Linked DNA regions of Homo sapiens: region 2 is linked to region 1. The links are contacts of gene promoters, found by promoter capture Hi-C in blood cells and fetal thymus (Javierre and others, 2016). All regions are on one chromosome and are shown on one strand. The core of a region is centred on a gene start or on the middle of the fragment in contact, and the rest is flanking DNA. Distances in the headings are between cores, read along the strand shown.

The links. The method cuts DNA at HindIII sites, captures the fragments that hold promoters and counts their contacts. A CHiCAGO score of 5 or more calls a contact.
Region 2: a contact is called between a fragment that was not itself captured here and the fragment with the promoter of PELP1 in region 1, in 1 of 17 cell types (neutrophils). The highest score is 6.1, in neutrophils.

Annotation. Positions count from the first base shown.
Region 1 is chr17:4,700,405-4,707,379 of GRCh38, reverse strand. PELP1 (proline, glutamate and leucine rich protein 1) reads left to right here and starts at 3,243. Exons shown (of 17, transcript NM_014389.3): 1 at 3,243-3,517. The coding sequence starts at 3,269. It overlaps PELP1-DT (PELP1 divergent transcript), which reads right to left and starts at 3,150. Exons shown (of 2, transcript NR_103482.1): 1 at 3,010-3,150; 2 at 1,851-2,181. It also overlaps the pseudogene RPS12P29. The HindIII fragment of the contact is 30,411 bases long and covers 1-6,975 here.
Region 2 is chr17:5,013,895-5,018,093 of GRCh38, reverse strand. KIF1C (kinesin family member 1C) reads right to left here. Exons shown (of 23, transcript NM_006612.6): 18 at 3,257-3,351. Among named protein-coding and RNA genes, the nearest start is that of KIF1C-AS1, 4.1 kb to the left of the region's middle. The HindIII fragment of the contact is 9,804 bases long and covers 1-4,199 here.

The sequences.
Region 1 (6,975 bases), core at 1,994-4,493:
TAGCCTATAATCCCAGCTACTCGTGAGGCTGAGCCAGAAGAATCACTTGAACCTGGGAGACGGAGGTTGCAGTGAGCTGAGATCGTGCCGTTATACTCCAGCCTGAGTGAGAATAGTGAAACTTCGTCTCAAAAACAAACGGGCCGCGCGTGGTGGCTCACGCCTGTAATCCCAGCACTTTGGGAGGCTGAGGTGGGCGGATCACGAGGTCAGGAGATCAAGACCATCCTGGCTAACGTGGTGAAACCCTGTCTCCACAAAAAAGTACAAAAAATTAGCCGGCATGGTGGCAGGCGCCTGTAGTCCCAGCTACTTGGGAGGCTGAGGCAGGAGAATGGCCTGAACCTGGGAGGCAGAGCTTGCAGTGAGCCAAGATCGCGCCACTGCACTCCAGCCTGGGTGACAGTGCGAAACTCCATCTCGAGGAAAAAAGAAAACAAAAAACCTCCGAAAAACGAAAAATGAGCCAAATATAGTGGCTAGTGCCTAGAGTCTCATGTACTAGGGAGGCTGAGGTGGGAGGATCGTTTGAGCTGGGAGGTCAAGGCTGCAGTGAGCTGTGATCATGCCACTGCACTCCAGCCTGGGGAAATATTTTTTCAGCACCTTTTATGTACCAGGCACTGTTCTAGGTGATAGGAATAGCATAGTGTAGGAGACAGGAGCCCTTTCATGGAGTTTGTATTTTAGACAAGAGATAGTTAATAAGAAAGCAAATTTCTGGTAATGACATGAATTATAAACAGGCAAATGTGATGGAGGCTGATGGGGGTTGGAGTGGGAGCTACCGAAAAAGAAGTCGTCTCAGGATGGCAAAATGGCGTTAGTTACATAGAATCAAAGGACAGTTTCTCCAGCATAATCAGCAACATGTGCAAAGGTTCGGATGTGAGAATGGGCTTTGCTGGAAAATAGAAGGCTAGCGTGGCTCAAGAATAGGAAGAGAGAAGGAAAAGGGTACTTGTGGTATGTGTTGAGGTCAGGGAGGTGGGTATGAGTCAGATTGGGTGGATTCTTTTAGGCCTCAGTGACGAGATGGGATTTCATTCTCATCACATTTGGAAGCCACAGAGGGGTTGAAGCTAGGAGTGACAACAACTTGTTTACATTTGAAAAGACCACTTTGGTTGCTGTGTGAAGGGACTACAGGGTGCTAAGAGGGAAGCAGAGAGCAACGAAGGCTTTGTAATAGACTAGGTGAGAGTGAATGGTAATTTGGACCGGAGCGGCAGTGGAGATGGAGAAAAATTAACGCTATTGGGTTAATGTATTTTGGAGGCCTTGAATGCCAGGACTTGAAGGATTGGATAGGAGGCAATAAGAGGAAAAACGGGCCAGGTGGGGTGGCTCACACCTGTAATCCCAGGACTTTGGGAGGCTGAGGCCGGCAGATCACTTGAGGTCAGGAGTTTGAGACCAGCCTGGCCAACATGGTGAAGCCCCGTCTCTACTAAAAATACAAAAATTAGCTGGGCATGGTGGTGGGTGCCTGTACTTCCAGCTACTTGGGAGGCTGAGGTAGGAGAATCACTTGAACTTGGGAGGCGGAGGTTGCAGTGAGCCGAGATCGTGCCATTGCACTCTAGCCTGGGCGACAGAGAGACTCCTCAAAAAAAGAAAAATGATGACTCTTGGATTTGAATCTAACAATCACAAAAGTACACAAACATAAACATAGAGGTATTAGCGTGTTCACTACAGTTTGCATTAGCAAAAAGCTGGAGCAGCCTTTAAGCATTAATTCAGCAATAGAATTATTAAATCATGGTGCACCCATTTCATTCATACCACAGTTTAAAAAACAGCATAAAGAAGGCCATGAGTGAAAACAAGCCACACGCAGACCCCAATCTTGTAAAATATTCATTTATGTGCTTGTGCATAGACTAATATTAGGAAAGTATACACGCTACTGGGGCAGGGCTTTGCGGGGGAGGAGCAGTTTTTCTTTTTACTTTATGCCTTTCTGTACTGTTTGAATTGGCTTTTGCAAGGCGCACGTCTTGTATCATTTCTGAAGTTGCAAATGTAGTTAAAAATGTCTGTGATTTCAAGTTACCTAGAGAGTTATTGATTCCTTCTCTTTCCCTGCCGCTGCCGAGTTGCGCGGAGGCGGAGGCTTGGGTACCTTCAAGATTCAGCTTCACTTGTAACCCACCGCCACGGCCGAGGAAGGCATTGCTGCTGGAGGGGTAATGGATGTTAATACTGCTTCACAAGAGGTGCTGAAGACCGCTCTCATCCACCATGACCTAGCACGTGGAATTCGCGAAGCTGCCAAAGCCTTAGACAAACGCCAAGCCCATCTTTGTGTGCTTGCATCCAACTATGATGAGCCTACTATGTATGTCAAGTTGGTGGAGGCCTTTGTGCTGAACACCAAATCAACCTAATTAAGGTTGATGACAACAAGAAACTAGGAGAATGGGTAGGGCTCTGTAAAAATCGACAGAGAGGGGAAACCCCGTAAAGTGGTTGGTTGCAGTTGTGTAGTAGTTAAGGACTATGGCAAGGAGTCTCAGGCCAAGGATGACATCGAAGAGTACTTGAAATGCAAGAAATGAAGAAATAAATCTTTGGCGCGCGTACACACACACACACGTTACTGATTCCTAGGCAGGGTGCGGTGGCTCATGCCTGTAATCTCAGCACTTTGGGAGGCCAAGGCGGGCGGAACACCTGAGGTCAGGAGTTCAAGACCATCCTGGCCAACATGGTGAAACCCCATCTCTACAAAAATACAAAAAAAATTAGCCGGGCGTGGTGGCGCGCGACTGTAATCCCATCTACTCGGGAGGCTGAGGCAGGGAAATCGCTTGAACCTGGAAGGTGGAGGTTGCGGTGAGCCGAGATCGCGCCACTGCACTCCAGCCTGGGCCACAGAGCGAGACTCCGTCTCAAAAAAAAAAAATGAGAGTTATTGATTCCTACAGCGAAGATGTCCCAAGACTCCGTCCGCTAAATGGAAATCGTTCCGACTTTGGCGCCTTTTGTCCGGACCACGTGTACCTTTAACATCACAGGACCGCCTCGGACACGCTCACAGGCAGCCTCATCCGCCATCACTCCGGGAACCGAGCACCCCGCTGCCTCGGCGCCCAGGCTGCTCTCTCCGCGCATGCTCCTTCCCAGCTTGAGCCCGCGAGTCCAGCCTGCCTTCACTCAGTGCGCAAGACCGCAGCCCCCTCCCCACGCCCCCTCCCCAGTAGGCGGCCGTCGCGGTGTGTTTGCGTCATCGCGCCACGCCACCACTGGAACCCGGGGGAAGATGGCGGCAGCCGTTCTGAGTGGGCCCTCTGCGGGCTCCGCGGCTGGGGTTCCTGGCGGGACCGGGGGTCTCTCGGCAGTGAGCTCGGGCCCGCGGCTCCGCCTGCTGCTGCTGGAGAGTGTTTCTGGTTTGCTGCAACCTCGAACGGGGTCTGCCGTTGCTCCGGTGCATCCCCCAAACCGCTCGGCCCCACATTTGCCCGGGCTCATGTGCCTATTGCGGCTGCATGGGTCGGTGGGCGGGGCCCAGGTGAGTCCGTGGCCCGCGTGCCCGCGGCCCTGTGGGGAGGATGGCGCGGCACCTGTGCGCCGGGATTACGGTGCAGTGCAAGTGCGATAGGGAGGTTGAAGGAAGGAGAGCTGCGGGCAGAAAGGGGATCCAGGTATCAGTCCGGACGGGATGCACGTATTTCTCCTTTATCGGCCATGAGTTTCTCCAGGGGAAAAATGGGCCTTATTTTTCTGTTGTTAGGCTATTGGTCGGCACACAGGAATCGATTAGGTTCCAGGCCCGGTCACTCACTAGTTGTATAATCTAAAAGTCTCTTTTTCCTCTGGCAATATCTGTTTCGGGGATTGTTTCGACTGACTGAATGACGCATTCAACAATAAACATTTACCGAGCTCTTATTGAGGGTCAGATACTGTACTAGGCGCTCCGGTTACAGACGTGGTGGCGATACACAAAATGCTGCGAAACAAGATGAGAATTGAATATCAGGGGTCTCTAACCTTATCTGAAGACTGGCAGAGATTTTTCCAAAGAAACCGGCGTTTAAGCTGAGACCCTAAGGATGAATAGGGGTTGGGTAGGGAAAAAATATGGGAGGGGCTGTTCAGTCAGAGGAGAGCTCATGTGGGAAGACCCTGTGGTAGGAAGGAACTGGAAAGAAGGGCATCGTTCCTGGGGCTCAGATGTGGAGGGGAAGAGAGTGGGTACAGATGAGACTGGTGAGATGGGTAGGCAGTGGTCGGGTCATGCAGAGCGTTTTAGGCCGGGTTAGGAGCCTTTGGACTTCTATAAGAATGGAATCTGATAACCATTCAGTTCTGCAAGCTAGACACTCAAGTAATTCTAAACTCTTCTTCATACACCTCCATAAGCAATCTGTCAAGTCCTGTTGATTTTATCCTTTGAGTAGTTTTCAGATCTGTCCACTCTTTTCCATCTTTCTCATTGCTCCCATTCTAGCTTGAACCCCCACCATCTTGTCCGGGTGAAGGCACTGATTCTAAGAAGGCATATTTCTAGCCCATAATAGCTGCTCCTTATAACAATCTCCTATCTTCCCTTCTCTCCCACTAAACCTCCCCCAAATTCTACCCATCCTTCAAGACCCATAAACACGAGATCTTCTGTGTCCACCCTTCATTCCTGGGACCTTCCTAGCTCTATGCTACCTTCCAGGAAGATGGTTGTCACAATTTGCTGGGTGGGTCAATAACCTTAGCCCCAGATTTATCACAGATAACCCTATCTGTTTGTCTTTAACATTACTCTGCATAATTGAGGGTGACAAAACTATATCTCTGCTATCTCAGCCCAATATCAGAGGCTGGAGCTGATTATGTATTTTCTCTTGTCTCTAAATTCCCCTCTTCTAATTTATGTGGTTTTCATCAGTCAGTTATATTACAGTGGGGTTTTTCTGTTTTCTTTATCTCACAATAGTCCCAGAATTATTATTATTTTTGAGACAAGGTCTTACTCTGTCACCCAGGTTGGAGTGCAGTGGCATGATCTTGGCTCACTGCAACCTCCATTTCCCAGCCTCAAGGGATCCTCCCACCTCAGCCTCCAGAGTAGCTGGGACCACAGGCATGCGCCACCATGCCCGGCTAATTTTTGTATTTTTGGTAGAGACGGGGTTTTGCCATGTTGCCCAGGCTGGTCTCAAAGTCCCGAGTTCAGGCGATTCACTTGCCTTGGCTTCCCAAAGTGCTGGAATTACAGGCACGGGCCACCATGCCTTGCCCCCCAGAAATTTTTTTTATAAGTATTTGTGAAATATTACCTATCCCGCCTATAAATGTGTGATTTCTTTCATCATCTCTTTCAGGACTTCCTCTCCTCCCTCAAAGTCAACTACATGAACTTAACGTCTTGCTTATTTTTCTTACATGTCTGAAGTCTAGTAGAATTTTGAGTAAAGAAGCTAAGAGTGATGTGGGAAACTAGGGCCGCCCTTTAATATTTCCTGTGCTACTTGTTTAGATACATCCTGCCTTGAATTTTTTTTCTACTTGTGTCCTTTGAATTGGGATTATGTGGAGGATTTCCTTTCCTTCCCCAAAGGTTTCATTCAACAAACATTTATTGAGTATCTGTTATGTTTTACGTACTGTTCCTCGTCTCTAGGTAGATAAATAAGACATGGTCCTTTCCCTCAGAGAATTTCTAGTCTAGTTAAGATGAGAAATGAAAGTCAGCAATAGACCTGGAGCTTGCGAGCAAGGGGGATCCACTGTTTGATCATCCACCTACCAACATGGCTTTTCCGCAGGTACTGCAAGCTCAGTAGTTCCAAAATGGAATGATCCTAGCACAGTGCTCCATATCTAGCTTGGAGTATATTATAGCAACAATCTTCTAACGGGTCTCCTTACCTTCAGTCTTGCCCTCTGTAATCCGTTCCCCACACAGTAGCTGGAGTGAGCTTTCTAAAGTAAAATTCTGATCCTGTTTGCAGCTTTTAAAAATCCTTCAGCCTCTGGGTGTTCTTTCCTCAGAGGCTTTGTACTTACTCTTCTCTTGGAATCCCTCCCTGTGCAGTGCCCCCACCCCCCCAACTCTCATCCTCCTTCCCAGTCTTCTCAATTCTTTGCTTATTTGTCACTGCCTTTGGGATATATTTCTTGGCCACCTATGATTGACTGCTCTTTATCCTACTGTCTGTTTATTTATTTCACATATACTTATAACCTCTCTCCCCTACATTCAGCAAGTCTTTGATTTGTTCTTGTATGTAATTAATAAAACTTATATAAAATTTCAGACATAAATAGTATTTTCCCCACCCCACCCTATGCTGCCCCCATCACTCAAATTTAACAGTGAACGTTTGCCAATGTTATTTCATTCCTCCCATAGCTTGGCTTTTTTTTTTTTTTTTTTTTTTTAGTGGAACTTTGCTTTTTCTTTCTTTCTCTTTTTCTTTTCTTTTCTTTTCTTTTTTTTTTTTTTGAGATAGGGCCTTACTCTAACTCAGGCTGGAGTGCAGTGGCCAGATTATGGCTCACTGCGGCCTTGGCCTCAACCTCCCAGGTTCAAGTAATCCTTCCACCTCAGCCTCCCGAGTAGCTGGGACTACAGGTGTGCCACCACCCCTGGCTAATTTAAAAATTTTTTTTGTAGACATGGGGGCTTTATATGTTGTCCAGGCTGGTCTTGAACTCCTGAACTCAAGTGATACTCCCGCCTTGGCCCCCCAAAATCCTGGGATTACAGAGGTGAACCACCGTGCTCAGCTTGGTGGACCATTTTAAAGCAAATCCCAAATGTCATTTATCCTGTATATTCTTTTGAAGGACAAAAACAGTGTCTTGTTCTGTCTTCTACGTAGGCCTCAGCCTCCTGAGTAGCTGGGATTACAGGCACCTGCCACCATACCCAGCTAATTTTGTATTTTTAGTAGAGACGGAGTTTCACCATGTTGGTCAGGCTGGTCTCGAACTTCTGACCTCAAGTTATCCTCCCCACTCGACCTC
Region 2 (4,199 bases), core at 1,700-4,199, 310 kb before region 1:
TGGGGGGATCACTTTAACCCGGGAGGTTGAGGCTACAGTGAACCATGATCATGCCACTGCACTCTAGCCTGGGTGACAGGGCAAGACCCTGTCTCAAAAAATAAAAATGAAAATGAAAATAAAAAAGGAGGGAATACGTGTTATGCAGGGAAAGTGGGGCTGGGTGAGAAGACTGCTCCAGCTTGGCCCAGGCAGCCTTACCCTGAACCCATGATAATCTGACAGTCTAGGGCAGAGCTCACAGCACAGCCCCTGGTGCCTGCCATCCTGTGTCTGAATCCAGTTCTGCCATTTTGTGTCATCTTTTGCAAATCACCTAACCCCCGAGAGCCTCAGTTCTCTCACCTGTGAGCTGTGTGAGAAAATGCGGACGCACAGAGTAGATGGTCAGTAAAAACCATTCTTCTACATCCATACCTGTCTGTGCTGCCCCCGTCCTCTCTGCCTGTTTCTGGCCAGGTCTTAAATCTGCTGTTAAGAACTGAGGCCCAGGCTGGGCGCGTGGCTCACGCCTATAATCCCAGCACTTTGGGAGGCCGAGGCGGGTGGATCATGAGGTCAGGAGATTGAGACCATCCTGGCTAACACGGCGAAACCCCGTCTCTACTAAAAATACAAAAAAATGAGCCGGGTGTGGTGGTGGGGGGGCGCCTGTAGTCCCAGCTACTCAGGAGACTGAGGCAGGAGAATGGCGTGAACCCGGGAGGCAGAGCTTGCAGTGAGCCGAGATCGCGCCACTGCACTCGAGCCTGGGCGACAGAGCGAGACTCCGTCTCAAAAAAAAAAAAAAAAAAAAAAAAGAACCAAGGCCCACAGGGACTAAACCATCACAATCCCCACCCTTGGCAACACAGAATCATTGGCTGCCTTTACTGTGACCTATGTCAGTCTTGCACACGGGTGTCATCTCTCCGCACTGTAGCTCCTTGCCCATGGGCTGGCTCTGCTGAGGTGTATTTTTGGTGGCCTGTATGGCTTTCATATCTCCCCCAGCAAATGGCTTGAGGTTGCCGCAGAACAGGAACTTGGCAATAACTCACTGGGCTGAACTGATTCAACAGCTTTCAACCCAAAATGCCGGAAGCATTTGCTGTCACTGAGGACTTGAACCAGACCAGAACAACTGCCTTGATTGGCTGACCCTGAACCATATGGAAACCGAAGAGGCATGTCTTTTTTTTTTTTTTTTTGAAACAGTCTCACTCTGTCACCCAGGCTGGAGTGCAGTGGCGCAATCTCAGCTCACTGAAACCTCCACTTCCCAGGTTCAAGCAATTCTCCTGTCTCAGCCTCCTAAGTAGCTGGGATTACAAGCGTTCGCCACCATGCCCAGCTAATTTTTTTGTACTTTTAGTAGAGACGGGGTTCCACCATGTTGGCCAGGCTGGTTTCAAACTCCTGACCTCAAGTGATCCACCCACCTCGGCCTCCCAAAGTGCTAAGATTACAGGCATGAGCCACCCCACCAGCCCCAAGAGGTATGTCTTAAACCTCACTGTAAGACGCACATGATAGCGTCTTTTGTTATTTTTTAAAATGTGCTGGCCGGGTGCGGTGGCTCACGCCTGTAATCCTGGCACTTTGGGAGGCCGAGGCAGGTGGATCACAAGGTCAGGAGTTCAAGACTAGCCTGACCAACATGGTGAAACCCTGTCTCTACTAAAAATACAAAAATTAGGGCTGGGTGTGGTGGCTCAAGCCTGTAATCCCAGCACCTTGGGAGGTCAAGGCAGGAGGATCACCTGAGGTTGGGAGTTGGAGAAACCCTGTTTCTACTAAAAATACAAAATTAGCCGGGTGTGGTGGCGCACACCTGTAGTCCCAGCTACTCGGGAGGCTGAGGCAGGAGAATTACTTGAACCCGGGAGGCAGAGGTTGCAGTGAGTCGAGATCGCACCACTGCACTCCAGCCTGGACGACACAGCGAGACTCCATCTCAAAAAAAAAAAAAAAGTGCTGACCATACACACCCCAGGTCCCTTGTCCCCTGGAAGGTGTTAGGCCAAGCACTCCTAGGTCTCTGAGGCACAACACACACACCAGGTCCAAGCTGACAGACAGCACATGTGTACCACGTCCTTCCTCCCTGCCCAACTCATTTTCACAGAGACTTTGCTTGAGCTTATGTGAACCCAAATCATTCTATTTTTTTTTAAGTGTTAGAACTAAAACAAACTGGTGGCCTCAAAAATACACCTCAGCAGGTGCAGTGGCTCACGCCTGTAATCCCAGTGCTTTGGGAGGCCAAGGTGGGCGGATCACATGAGATCAGGAGTTCAAGACCAGTCTGACCAACATGGTGAAACCCCGTCTCTACTAAAAATACAAAAATTAGCCTGGTGTGGTGGCGCGTGCCTGTAATCCCAGCTACTCGGGGTTGAGGCAAGAGAATCACTTGAACCTGGGAGGTGGGGGCTGCAGTGAGCCAAGATCATGCCACTGCACTCCAGCCTGGGGGAAACAGTGAGACTCCGTCTCAAATGATAAAAAAAAAAAAAAAAAAAAAAAAAAGCTGGGGGCAGTGGCTCACGCCTGTAATCCCAGCACTTCGGAAGGCCGAGGCAGGCGGATCACCTGAGGTCAGGAGTTCGAGACCAGCCTGACCAACATGGGAGAAACCCCGTCTCTACTAAAAACACAAAATTAGCCAGGCATGGTGGCACATGCTTGTAATCCCGGCTACTCGGGAGGCTGAGGCAGGAGAATTGCTTGAACCCGGGAGGTTGAGGCTGCAGTGAGCCCAGATCGCGCCATTGCACTCCAGCCTGGGCGACAAGAGCGAACACTCCGTCTCAAAAAAAAAAGAAAAAGAAAAAGAAAAAGAAAAAGAAATCTCGGCAGTCATAGCTGGATAGAGGCAGGTTTTCCACAGGGACAAGTTCCGATATTCAAATACAGGTTTTTGTTTAAAAAGGATCAGAGTGCTAGTTGTGGTGAACAAGATCAAGAAGGGCAGGATCTTCTCTTCAGCAAAATCCCACACTCTGGCTCACTAGTGTCCCATTTCTACCTTAGAACCCTCGCCAGTGCCTGACCACACAGTAGTCTGTCTTCTCAGGGTGGGTGCAGAGGGCTGGGCCTGTGGTATTCCTCCATTCATACCCATGAGCCCCAAGCCCCTCTGAGGACAAGGCCACATCCCCTCTTTATATGGCTGCACTCCCTGGTGCCCAACCCAGACCTCTGAGTTCAGTGTGTGGGGTGGAACATGGGGCCTCTCTCCCTGTCTGGCCTCTCTCACCCCCTCAGCCATTACCTTCTCCATCTGGCTGGGGGATGCTCCGGAACAGACAGTGTTGCTCCCGAATGAACTGTCCGGTCAGCTTGATGTCCATATCTACTTGGCCGACCCTGGGGAAGCAATGGCCAACGTTTGTGAGCATGTGCCAGACTTTAACCAAGCCCCTCCTGAACACCAGTTTATCCAACTCAATGAACCAAGCCAATTATTCCCATTTCACAGATGAGGAAGCAGAGGCTCAGGGAGGTGAAATGGCTTGCCCGGGTTCATTCAGTGGGCAGTGAAGTGATGCTGGGATCTGAGCCCAGGTCTGCCTGACTCTGAAGCCATGCTCTTAGTCACCATGTTATACAGCAGGCTCGCCAACTTCTCTTGAAGCTGGGAGAGCATGCAGGGCTGTGGAGGCAGCTGTTTAGAGATCTGAGTTATCTCCAGGGACCACCAGGGAAGGGAGGCACCAATGTGGCTAACCCTCAGCAGCCATACCCCAAAAGCAGAGGCTGCCCCCCGGGCCACTGGGTACATGCTACCTGGGTACAAGCAAACCTGGGAGAAACGGGCACCCTCAGCCACAGGCCTCCACCCATCCTTAGGTTGATGATCCTGAGAGCTCACTCCCTACCCAAGATGACTACCAAGGACAGCCACGAATGCCTGTGGTGGGAGGGGAAGGGCACCCTCACCCCTTTAGGGGAGGCACCGAGCCCCCATGACTTCATAATACCAGCCCAAGGAGCCACATGCCCTTAGCTGCCCAGCCCTCAACCGCACAGACCAGGCCGTGTTTCCCTTCTCCCGCCCCCAGGGAAGGCCCCACCAAGGGAGGCCAAGGCAATGGCATCAGGGTCTAAGAATGAGGGGGTCTATGTTTCCCAACTCTCCTGCCCCAGTAAACAAGGTTGTCTCGCCCTAACCAAACTGGCAGGTGGAGGCAAGACAGCCACTGAGCAGGCACGCT